Regions from separate parts of the Homo sapiens genome. Here region 1 is linked to region 2. Evidence: promoter capture Hi-C in human tissues and cell types (Jung and others, 2019). All regions are on one chromosome and are shown on one strand. Each heading gives the region's core, a stretch centred on a gene start or on the middle of the fragment in contact. The rest is flanking DNA. Distances are from core to core; before and after follow the strand shown.

Region 1 (6,222 bases), core at 3,471-5,970, 190 kb before region 2:
GTAAGTGTATCCCACGCAATATGTGGGATACACTCATACTAACAAAATTATTCATTATCTGAAATTCAAATTCCACTGGACGACGACTTCCTCCTCTTCTTCTTCTTCATCATCATCATCATCACCATCATCATCATCATCATCATCATCTGGCTACCTGAGGGTCTCACCAACTTTTAGCACTCAAAGTGGATCACAATCAGAGGAAGCCAATGCAGTGAGTCAATACTGGGATGACACAGTGACAGTCACGGCTCATGTGTATGCATCACCCTGTAGTTCATGACACATTTCAGCATCCGTGATCTTGTTTGATTCTCATGACTCCTCTGAGGCAGGTTGAGTGGCCTTGTCACCATCTCCTAGGTTGAGAAACAAAGGCACAGAGAGGTGCAGGATGTTGCTCAGTGCCACACAGCATGTAAAGACAGGGAAGAACTGGGGACGAGTCAGCCTGGGCTCACCACCTTACCACCTTCTGCTTTCTCCAGGAGGAAACCCTGAACCTCTGGCCTGTGGATTCAGGCTTCCTTAGGCGTGTCCTGGGAGGTGTTGCCAGCCCCGCTTATGGCTCATGGGCTGGAGTTCATGGGAGAATTGGTGTCTCTGGGGGAGAAAACGAGGGTTTCATTTCACTTTCACGTCATGTAATAAGGATCTTCTCAGCTGAGTTCTCCCAGACATCCACAGAAGTGAAACTTTTGATTCAGCCTGTAAACATGAGTCCTTCCTGTTTGGGGAGGGCTCTGGTGCTGCGGGAGGCTCAGGCAGCTGGGCTCTGCAGAGCTGGGGGCTCCCCTGCAGGCCCAAGGTGCACCCCTGAGCTGCTGAAGATATGTTCCATTTTCCTCCTCATCCCTGCCCATCTTTCCACAGGAAGCCACTGGGGTTTGCTTTGTTGCTGGGTTTGACCACTTGCCGGTAGTGTGGTTTTTGAGCCCAAGATCTTCGGGTGAATTTAATTACCTTAATTGAATGGTGCTTTCACTTCTTAGAGAAGGGGAAACAGGAAGACAGTGGAGATGGCAGGGGTTGGCTTTATCACACCCAGAAGGCTCTAACAAATTGGAATTGATTCCTCTTGCTCTTCTTTCTGGGTTGGTTTTCTGAGCCATCGACTCAGGCATGTGTGACGAGCAGTTCAGTGGAGTGAAGTGTGACAACTCCTCCCTGTCTATGCACAGCCTGGAGCCCTGCTCACAGATGGTCCTCCATCCACAGATGCACAGCACACACAGCCTCCACCACCCCACGCCACAGGGTGCCTTGCTGGTCAGTTTTGGGCCAAGCTCTCGACCTCTCTGTGCAATTCTAACAGCCCTCTTGCTTTAGAGGGGAATGTCCTTGTCTATGGTCTATGCTTTATGAGGAGAATGTCTTAGCTTGAACTAAAATATCATAGGCTAGGAGGCTTAAAATCGACATTTACTCCTCACAGTTCTGGAGGCTGGAAAGTCCAAGATCAAGGCACTGGCAGATCTGGTTTCTGGTGAGGGCCCTCTTCCTGGATTGTAAATGGACACTTGCTTGTTGTATTCTCATACAGCAGAGAGAGAGAGAGTGAGTGTGCACATGTATTAGCAAGCCCTTTTGTGTCTCTTCTTATAAGGGCACTGATCCTATCACAGGGGACCCACCCTCATGACCTAATTACTTCCCATAGGCCCCATCTCCTAATACCATTCCACTGGGGTAATCTCAGTGAATTTTGGAGCACACACATTCAGCCCATAGCAGCCAACAGTGAAATGGCAAAATTTACTTCCTCAGTTGAAGTCCTTCAGGTGAGGGCAGCAGACACGTGTTGAGTGTCTGTGAAGCAGCAGGTCGACCCCTGCACCTGCCCGTGCTCACTTATTCCTTGATAACACTTGGCATGATAGGCTCCCCTCATCATCTTACAGCTGATGAAACTGAGCTGTGACTGGCTAGGTCAATCGCTGGTCCCTTGCTTAAGGCCTGGGAGTGCTGAGCAGGGCCTCACCCAGTCCTCGGCCTCTGTGCCCTGCTCTCTGGCCCCAGGTTGATGCCTCCTCAGCATCTCCCATGTGGGGCTCGCTGTGTCTTTGTAACCCCTTTTACTTTTGGAAATCAGAAATTATAAGTTCATTTAGACTCCTAGAAGAAAGCGTAAGATCTCGTAAGCGTGACTTAAGCTTATTTATGTATTGATCCATTCAACAACTACTTATTGAACACCTGCTTCACGTCACCAGTTTTGGTGCTGGAGATATAGCCATGTGCAGGGCTGACCCGGGCCCTCTCCTCACGTAACTGGATGGATCCTGGGAAGTTACTGCTTTGTAAAAGCACAATTACCTCTGATTGCCTTAGATTGGCTTCCACTGGGCAGTGCCTCTTATGTGTGTAAAGCAGAGATTTGATATACATAAGGGTCATTGTGCATCCAGTCTGGCCATTTTGGCTCCACTAGCCTGATATTTGGCACATGGGAGAGGGGTGTCAGCCTGCAGCCTGGCCTGGCTTGACTGGACCCAAACTCAGGTTATAGCCTGGGAAAGCCAAAGGCTCTCAAACTGACTCTGAGGCCACTGTGCCCTGGGAGAGAACAAGTTTGGCTTTGGCCAGCCCCAGGAACATGATGTGGTTGGGTGCCATGATGGCAGTGTTGGCCTGGTGGGAGTCTGAATCTTCTACAACCACATTACATGTGCAGGAGCCTCTAAATCTTGTAGCAGGTAGAAGTCCAGGATGCCCCAGGGGTTGTGGTTGAAGAAACCAGCTTGCCTGGGCTTGTCAAACCCACAGAACTGGATGTGAGCAGGGGGTAGCAGGGGCTGCTGCCCTCTGGGGAGAGACTGGAGGAGTGATGCTTTCTCTGTGAGCTCAGCCCAGCCTGAAGCTGACTTCTGGCCTGGGTAGCCAGTCTGCCATGTCTGGATGGGTCATTCCCCAGAAGCTTCCAAGTGCTGCTCAGACCCAGGGCTGTGCCTACAGTTGAGGCCAGGGAACAAGGCACAGGGAAGGCCGGGCTTGGTCTAACCCAGGACATGAGGGTGACCAATACCTGGCATCACAGACCCAGGGAGGGACCCTTATGGCAGGAGAAATGAGAAGTCACAGGAGAAAAGAAGAGAGGAGGAGAATGGGACTGGGTTCAAGCAGTCTCCCACAAACCTGTCCCCTCCTGGTTCCTGTTCCCTGATGACCAGGGCAGGCCAAGCGATGTTTAATAACCAGCTCTCTGGGGCAAAAAGCACTGGATTTGTAGCACTGGCTAATTTCTTGCTGCCTCCCTGATATCCCAGGCAGAGTTGGGACGAGGTGTGCTCAGTGGGCCTTGCAGGGTGCAGGGGGCTCTGGTGCGCCTCTGCATCCCAGCAGGCTCCGGAGCTCGCACTGCTTAAACTTGGGTAGAGTCTCACTCCACAAAGGCTAACCTGCGAGCTGTCAGCAGCACCTCTTTGCGCAGTTTCTGACCGCTTCTGGAGGTGGAGCATTATGGAGGATCACTCCTTGGAACTCCTGGTGGCCAGATGGGCTGGACTCAGCCAGACACCGTCTCTGGACAGTCCCTTCCACTAGGAAGGAGCTCAGGCCTGGCACTGCCAGCTGCTCCACGACACTCTCTCAGGTGTTCTCTGCAGACCTCAAGGGGCCCAGCCTCAGCAGCCAGATGCTCCCTAAGCAAAGAGCCCTTGGCTTCTCCTCGTGAGCTCAGAGGTGCCCTTGGCTTCTCCTGGCGAGCTCAGAGGTGCCCTTGGCGTCTCCTTGTGAGCTCAGAGGTGCTTTATAGGAGCAGCCATGCTGGCATCACAGGTAAAAGTAGGAGCAGGAAAGATCTGGAAGGGAGAGCATGTGATCCCAAACAACTCTGTTCACCCTGTCTTCCTATCCCAGGGTTGGGTGAGTGCCAGTCCTGCTCCACTGCCCAGGAGGGGAGTTGCCTGAGAGGCAGAGATTTTGGGAGAAAGCAGGGTCAGCCTGGCAGCCATGGTTCTGCTGCTCATCCTTCTTACCCTTGCACCTCCTTGTTGCACCCAACCCAAACTGCAGGGCCACCCCCACTGCCAGGCCAGCTGCTGGAGAAGGGACACATGGCTCCTTCAGGAGCTCTGGGGCCATGTGAATGGTGGGTCCCCCTGGGATCTGGGCACAGGTCCTCGTGCTGCTCTGTGCCCTTTAGCCATGGTTGCTGAGTACAACCGTGCTTGAGGGACATGGCATGTGAGAGCCTTTCTCATCTGCAAGTAAGTGGACCCCATGCCATGCACCTGGCACAGGTGCTCCCAATAGACTTTCTAAGTCCCCACATCACTGGCACTGCCCAAGTCTCTGGCCAAAATCACCCCTGGCTGAGAACTGCTGTTAGAGAATCAGGGAGGGAGCACTAGCCCAGCACCAGGCTCTTCCTGCCTTCACTCATTCATGTATTCACTTGCTCTTCCCCTCCACATTTCCTAGGAACATCTTGCCCTGGATTCTGGAAATGGCAGGACCTGACATGAGAGTCATCAAATAGGCAGTACCAGCAGTGCGAAGAGCGGAGACCCAGCTCTAAAGTGCTGTTGTCATGGGTGTCACTTAACTGCTACACCTGGAAAAAAGGGATAATAAAAATCAGCCCGGCTGTGCCCGCCCCTGGGACTGCCCACTCCCAAGGTTGCTCCCCATGCTGGACACAGGAATTTTCATGGAATCGGTCCCTGTGGCAGGCACTGCTTGAGAGTCTCTCGATGCTGGAGTCAGCCAAACCACCAGGTCCTGGATCCCCACCACAGCAGGGAGGACGCCTGGACTAGAAGGAGGTTCAGAAGGCCCTGACCATTGCAGCCCCGTGCCTCACCTGCCAGGTCGACAGGGAGCGAGTGAATGGCATACACATCCTCCTCTCCGTGTCTCCACAGAGCAGAGGTTTCTCCTCTACATGTAGTAAGAAATGCATTTACATCATGGCACAGAACATGCTTGGAGACATATGTATCATGGAAAACCAGACAAAGCAAAGCTTACCCTTCTTATATGTACTGCTCCATCCTAATCTAATCTATTCGTTCATTTAAAAAACCTCTTCACAACTTAGTGATTTCAGGACTCAGTAATGACTTATGATCTATAGTGATTTAAAAAAAACTCTCTGAGACCAGAAATTTTAGGCATCCCTAATTATGCCCAACTTACGGGTGCCCCGTTTCTGGTAATGCTAGATTTTCATCTGGATGGAGAATTGGAGACCCAAGGCCCAAACAGTGGCTGATCAGATTCACTTGGGGAGGGGAGGAGACCCCACCCGCTGGTGGCAGGTCCATGGGCTGGGCCTTGCCTTACTGCTCTAGCTTATGTTTCCAGTCTCCACACAGTGCCTATGCCTAGCATGGGGCCTTTTATTTGCTAAACAAGTGAGTGAATGAGTAGGTGAGAGAAATTTCTCTTATCCACTGAGTGGGTAATGAGCACCTGGTATAAAGGTACTTTATAACCTAGTATTATTAATATTTATTATTTAATTAGTATTCACAACAGCCTCATTACACAGGAGTTACTCTTGTTCTTTACAGAGGAGAAACGTGTGTAGCGCAGAATTTAATACCTGGTGGTGTGGGGCTGGAACCTAGGGCTGCCAGAGAAGTGGTCCCTTTCACCTGTCTTTAGAGAGCCTCCTCTAGCAGCTTCTAGAATGCCAGCTACAGGTTAAAAGTCTCTGCTCAGCACCACACTGTGACTTTGGGGACCCACCTGCCCCTGGCTACCTTGCAGCCTCCATACTCCTGGTTCTTACCCACAGGTCTCCTTAGAGCTCATCTTGAGACCTATGGCCATAAGATGTCCTTCTATTCCCCATACCCCATGACACCTGGGATTCCATAGCATGGGGTGCAAAGAACTTGAAACCCTGCCCTGGCCCTTACTTACTGGGGCACATAACTCTCCAGTTAAGAGCTTCAGAATCAGACAGCTTTAGGACTTGCCACTTAACTTGTGTGAGCCTCAGTCTCACTTTGGTGACCTTGGGGCAAATGGAAAGGCAGACCCAGCAGCTTGATGCTTGTGGAAACCCCTTATGGATCAGGAAGTGGGTGGTGAAGGGACAACTGTAACCTATGACCAGATTCCACCTTGGAGAGCCTTGTCTAGACAGAAGCCCACTTGAGGGCTCCTGGAGGAAGAGACATTTGTTTTTGCTGGGATGGGGGTATCCCCTCAGGAACCATCCTTTCTCCAGCCCCTGGGAAGGGAGCCAGGCACTAAGGGGAGGGGAAC
Region 2 (6,115 bases), core at 2,871-5,370:
TGTAATATGTATGATACTGATCAATAATTACATGATGCCTATGAGCAGCATATATATAAAAACACTGAGATATCATAAAAGTAATAAACAAGTTTTAGTTTTAAGTTTTACTTCGAAAAAAATGAAAACTTACAGAAGTTGCAAGAATAGTACAATGAATTCCATATGCTCTTTATCTAGATCTACTGACTTTCCCATTTGCCTCTCTCTCCCTGTGTCTCTCTCTCTTTCCATATATATATTATACAATACATATTATAGATAAACTTGTTATTTTTGCTGAACCATTTAAGAGTAATTTACAGTCATTCTATTAACACCAGATACTTCAGTGTGGATCGCCTAAGAACAAGTGTAAAGGCATTCTCTTTCATAATCATGCTCAGGAAATGTATGTAGTATACAATATAGTCCATTTGCCAGTCATACCAATAATGTCCTTTTTAGCATTTTTTTCCTGATCCCACATCAAGGATCTAGGATCATACGTTTCACTTAGTTGATAAGTCTTTTTAACCTCTTTTACTCTGAACAGTTCTTCAGTCTGTCTTTTGCTCACTGAATGTTCAATAAAAGTAGAAGGCATAGACTGAGATTTTTAGTCTTATACATCAGTGGTCAGTTCTAAGATGTTTTCTTTGTGGTCAGTTTTATAGACATCTGTTTGGTTCCTAGTCCCTCCCTCATTTCAATCACCTCCATCTGGAGCCTTCTAGGAATCTGGGGCCATGTCTTTCCGTTTCCTGGGAGCTGGTCCAGGTTGCTGCATCCAGCCGGCCTGCAGAGCCCTTGGCATCAGCTCACAATCACGTCCCTCTATTGGGGTCACCAATGAGGTTGGTTAGAAGCTATTTCTATCTAGACATCCTGTCAGGCCTATAGCTTCACATTTCTGTACATTTCGGGAAAAACAGTGTAGTCCATACTCCTTCCCCAGTTGTGCAGGGAGAAGACGGTGCTGAAGGTTTCATGTAAACTCTGCCCCAGGGGCCTTAGGCATATCTTTCTGATTGGATGGCTGCATTGTCTGTAACCACGATCTCTCCTCTTTCTTATCCTTTCCCTGCTCTCTCAGTCACAGCTGATAACTGCTTTTCTCTAGAGTGAACTCTCTTTTAGTGGCAATTCAAGCATGTAGCTGACTGCTTTTAGCTGTAAAATGCCTGTGAACAATAGGGAGGAGCAAATATTCAAAATTACTTTTAGAAACCTAGACTGAAAAAGTAACACTTGGAAATCTGCTAAACACCTTAGAAGAGGGGTGTTTCGTTTTGCTTGATGGTCTTAGTTTAGGGATATATTTGCTGTGTGCAAGGTCCATTACAAAACCATGCTGTACTCTTCCATCTCTGACCCAGGTTCTAACAAACAATTGGATAATGAAAGAGGAAAAGCCCCGGCCTGCCAGGTGATAGCAGAATGCACTTGTTGGAGAAAATCTGGATTTCTAAGATTCTTTCAGTGGCAACTGGTAGAATACAGGATTAGTTGAGTAGGCTCTCCATATAGCTTAGTGTCCACAGGAATCTGGATCAACTTTAGAATGGTTTGAACACCCTCTTCTTATGAGGTAAACAAAAAATAGAATTGGATTGTATTATTCTTCCAATTCAGTACAAAGTAAGACCTGATAGAGCCAAGGTATGGACAAAGAAGCCTGTGAAGGATTTTCAAATGGTCCTAAGCTTGTGAATGAGTGAGCAGGCAGCAGAGCTAAGAAAACCATTTGGAAGGCCTTTGCCAATGTAGTCCAGAAGAGCTGAAAGGCCAAGTCTTATCCGGGTCACTGGCTCTGTCTCCCATGAGGGCTGAGTATATTCCCTTGTTCCTGTGTTCATGCAGCAAAGGTTTTACCAGGATGATCAGTTAGATTATATGGGAAGCTGAAAAGTACCAGCAGTGCACACAGCTGTAAAATCAGCACAATGTTACCTGTAGCAGAAAAGTACAAGAAAAGCACTTTCTAGCCTCAAATCTTTGGCACAACCCCAGTTTGGTAAAGACGAAGCAAGTCAAGGGTGGCAGGCTGAATTTCTGCTCTGTTTTGCAATGAGAGTTGGATATTTAGCAATATACAACGACCAAAGCAGGAGTTGCCTCCTCCAAGGGTGGCTGACACATCTAAGGGGTCCCTTCTGCTTTTCACCAACTGGGAGAGTAAATTGAGACCAGCAGGTTGAGGTGGGAGGTTACCAAGGATACCAAATGGCCCTGCCACATCTCTAGCTGCTCTTAGTACAGCCATGTCAAGACGCCATTTTACATGTGTCACCTTCACTTGACAAATGAAATTCAGAGAGGTTGTGCTGCTCCAGGACCCAAGGTTGTTGCCCAGCCAGAGCGGGTCACAGATCCACTTTCAGAACCAGTGCTCCTCTTCAGACATCCTCCCTCAGTCTGCCAAACACTGCCCCAGGCTCCAGGGCTGAGTCAACAGTCTGCAGTCAGAGTCCAAGTTCCCAGTTCAGACATTTGGTGCCCCACAGAACCTTGTACGGGTCCCTGGTCTTCTTTGAGCCTGAATTTACTAATTTGTAAAATGAGGCCTAGGACATTATGTGGATGGGACGTGAGGCTCGTTTGCTCATGTATAAAATTGGTTTCCAAACTCTGGTCTGGAAGCCTCACTTGGTTCTAGTTTGCATTCCTGGGCTGCAGGAGTCCATCTGACCCCAGTTCTAGTCCTCACTTCTTGTCCTTGGCATCATAGCCAAGTACCTTTGTTGCCAACTCACTATCGGGTCCTCAGGCCCTTCCACCAACCCAAATTATAGATGGGGCTGCTTTCTCCAGCCTGGCTGCCTTGATGGTCAGTCCAGTCCCTGCAGGGCCCTGGTCCACAGATGAGTCTCCTAGCTGGAGGATCCCATGGGGTCCAGAGACCTCTGGAAGTGCCTGGGGTTCAGAGATGTCACAGAGCCTTTGCACCCACTGGCCTGGGGTGCCTGAAGAGGATGGTCCCTCTGGGGAATGCCCTGGGGCTCACACTAGTGGGCTGCACCCTCTTTCCATGCCACCCACACCTCCTCACTCCCTTAGAGGGAAGGAGATGAGGGCCCTGTCTCCTCCTCCTCCTACAGGGACCCACTCCCAACCAGGGCCCACCTGCTAGCTGCTGCTACCCCTCACTGGAACTCCACAAAGACCTCTCCTGATAGACACACACAGAATAGACCTAACATGTGCTTTTCTTGCTTGGAGATGGGTTAGGCTCAGACCCTAAGTTTAGAACAGTGGCAAAGAGACCAGGCATTGGCTCAGAGTGACAGGGCTCTGTGGTTGTGTGACATGGGTCTCTTTCATGTGGCTGCTTCTGCTTCCTTATGTATAGTAATAATAGTAGTGTTCACTGACACCCGTGAATCGGGTGCTGGGGCAATGCGTTAATGGGAATGGTGTAACTTGGTCTTCCTAAACACCCCAGAAGGGGTGGGCCCATTTCCCCATTTTACAGGTGCAGGAAACTGAGGCACATGGAGATTACAGAACTGTCCCAGGCCTGACCGCGGCGGGGTTCAGTAGCATCTGGAAAATCACTTTAGCCCAGGCCTGGCTGAGGCACTGTAAATGGGCACTTTTGTTAATAGTTTCCACATATTCTGGGCTGGTCTGTGTGGACCCTCTCAGTTTTCCAAGGGTTAGCACCTCGGACCCCGCCCTCCATTTCAGGGCAGCAGAAGGGGCTTCTCCCCCCTCAGCTGCTTGTTGGCTCCCGAGGGTCCTGTGGAGTGAGCGCAGGAGGCCCACGACCAGCAGGTGAGTCTCAGGCCAGAGGTTCCCTGGACGCGCCCCCACCCCCTGGCTCCCAGATCCCGCCTTCCCTTAGGAATAAGTGCATCTGTGGGCAGAGGACCGCCGGTCGCACTGCAGCTGTGTGTTCTGTGAGTCACCAGCGATCACCTTGCAGAAACTCAGTTTTCTCATCTGGGAAATGGGGCTGTTGAAAGGAGACGCCACAGATCCTGGAGCGAACCGATCGCGCGGCGGCTCCCGCGCCCGGTGCGGGCCTCGGGACCCAGCAGCCCCGGCCCCGCGTGGCAGGCGGCCCAAGGGGCGGGCCGGGGGCGGGCGCGAGCGCGGGCCCGGGGCGGGCTGGCGGCGGCCGGGCCAGGCGGCGGCGCTCTCCCGCGTCACAGCGCCGGGCGGCGGCGGGGAGATGCGGCTGCTGGCACTGGCGGCGGCCGCGCTGCTGGCGCGGGCTCCGGCTCCGGGTAAGCGCGGCGGGGCCAGGCGGGAGCGGGAAGGGTGGGGGCCGGGCGGCCGCGCCGGGGAGGCCGGGGCTCCGGGCCTGGTGGGGAGGCCCTGCCACCTCCGGGCGCGGGCGGGGGGCGGCGCTGTCACTGTCGCCAGCGCGCTCCGGTGGGCTCGCCGAGGGTCTGGCGGGCGCAGCGGCGCCTCCCCAAGGTTCAGAGGACGCCTCCCGTGAGCGCGGTCCCCGTCCCGACCTCGCCTGGGGCTGGGTACTCTCGCAGCAGCCGAGATCTTCCCAGCGGCAGGCCCCGAGGGGAGATGCAGCAGGAGCGCAGCCCAAGTTGGTGGTTCGCTTTCCTTTTTTCCACGGCAGTCAGGACACACAGCTCTTGGCAGATTCCTCGGAGCAGCAACTTCCCTTTCACTCTCTTCGGAGAGTTACTCCGAAGACAAGTCAGGAGCGGCTGGATCTGCCTTGGCCAGGAGGTGGGGAACGGGGACTTGATCGTGGGCCTTTTGAGGTGACCAGGCCTGGTGAGAGGGGCATCCACGGCTGGATGCAGCGACGCCTCTCCACCAGCACCCTGCTTTGAGGACAACTTCTTGGTCCACACTAATGGCTTTCATTCGGGTTTTACTGCTCCCACTTGTAAGTGTCTTAAGAATTTTCCCTCTTTATTCCCCAGAACTCTGTCTGGCTGCCTCAGGGCAGCAGGGGCCGTACTGGCTGGAATAATAGTAATAATACAGGTATCGATGGTCACTTTCCCTGGGTGCCTATCTGGGCCTATCTCATTTAATTACAACACTTCCAAGTAATAATGACTACAACACGTTTATATATCCAAGTATTAAAAAAAAAAAACATGAACTTGGTTAATCTCACCAATAACCTCTGAAGGAGGTGCTATTATTATCCCTATTTTATAGATGAGGAAACTGAGGCTCAGGCCCATGAACGGACTTGCCTTAATTCAGTAGGCTTGTAAGTGGTGGAGCTGGGATTTGAACCCAGTTAGCCTGGCTCTGGGCTCTGTCAATAACCACTAAACTGTGTTGCCATTGTTTTGAAAATTAGGAAACTGATGCTCAGAAGTCATTTTCCAAGAGTGATCTGGCTACCAAGTGTAGAGCTGGCATTTGAGCCAGCATTAATCCATAGATCCCAGTCTGAGGAGGAGGCACTTGGATAACAGTGGGAAGAAATCCATCTACTGTCCCCCAGCTATGAGTGCAGCCAGGTTCCCAGTGAACCTGAAATCCTTGCTGCGGGAAATGTACCTTTTCCCAGTTGTCACTGTCTCGGCTGGAAAAATGATGAGAAGTTTGCCTTGGACTGGTGGGCAGGGCCAGTTCTCGTGGTCTCTGTGGAGTAGCCAGCAGCCAGTGGTCCTTCCTCTCCCAGGCTCCATGACCACCTTCTAATTGCAGGAGCTGTCAGAGTGGGTGTCCCAGAGATTGTCTTTTGCTGGGGATCAAGGGCATTCTCACATTTCCAGAGCCCTCGGGAGCCTTGAGAGCTGGAATTCAGGAGCCTTTAGAGTCTGCCCTGGCTGTGCCCATGGTCAGCCCTGGAGGATGATAAGAGCTCCTGCTTGTGGGACACTCACTGTGTGCCACCCACTTTTCTAAGTGCCTCATTCATGACTCCTCACCACGATCCTGCTGGGAGGGGCTGGCAGACCCATTTTATACATAAGTACAGCTTCTTAACTGCTGTACTTTTCTGCCTCTCCATTTTGGGACTGACCAGGACCCTAGTGGTCACCTGGTCCCATGTCTCATTTTACAGGAAAGAAAACTGACAGACAATATATTTACGATAGCAAATCTGTAGGCTTGAGAGGTGGCTGAGCTGTCTTTGAAGCAAGATGGCCTAGGTTCGAATTCCAGCTCTGCCACTTACTATGTGAGCTTGAACAAG

The links. Contacts are between HindIII fragments. The study calls those that stand out against the background at their distance.
Region 1: a contact is called between a fragment that was not itself captured here and the fragment with the promoter of VSTM4 in region 2, in 2 of the 25 tissues and cell types used here (heart left ventricle and spleen).

The regions. Positions count from the first base shown.
Region 1 is chr10:49,304,705-49,310,926 of GRCh38, reverse strand. The region is part of intron 1 of C10orf71 (chromosome 10 open reading frame 71); the gene reads right to left. Among named protein-coding and RNA genes, the nearest start is that of C10orf71, 8.6 kb to the right of the region's middle. RefSeq lists a silencer at 2,770-2,819. The HindIII fragment of the contact is 4,363 bases long and covers 2,539-6,222 here.
Region 2 is chr10:49,113,527-49,119,641 of GRCh38, reverse strand. It overlaps VSTM4 (V-set and transmembrane domain containing 4), which reads left to right and starts at 4,120. Exons shown (of 8, transcript NM_001031746.5): 1 at 4,120-4,211. The coding sequence starts at 4,157. The HindIII fragment of the contact is 10,769 bases long and covers 561-6,115 here.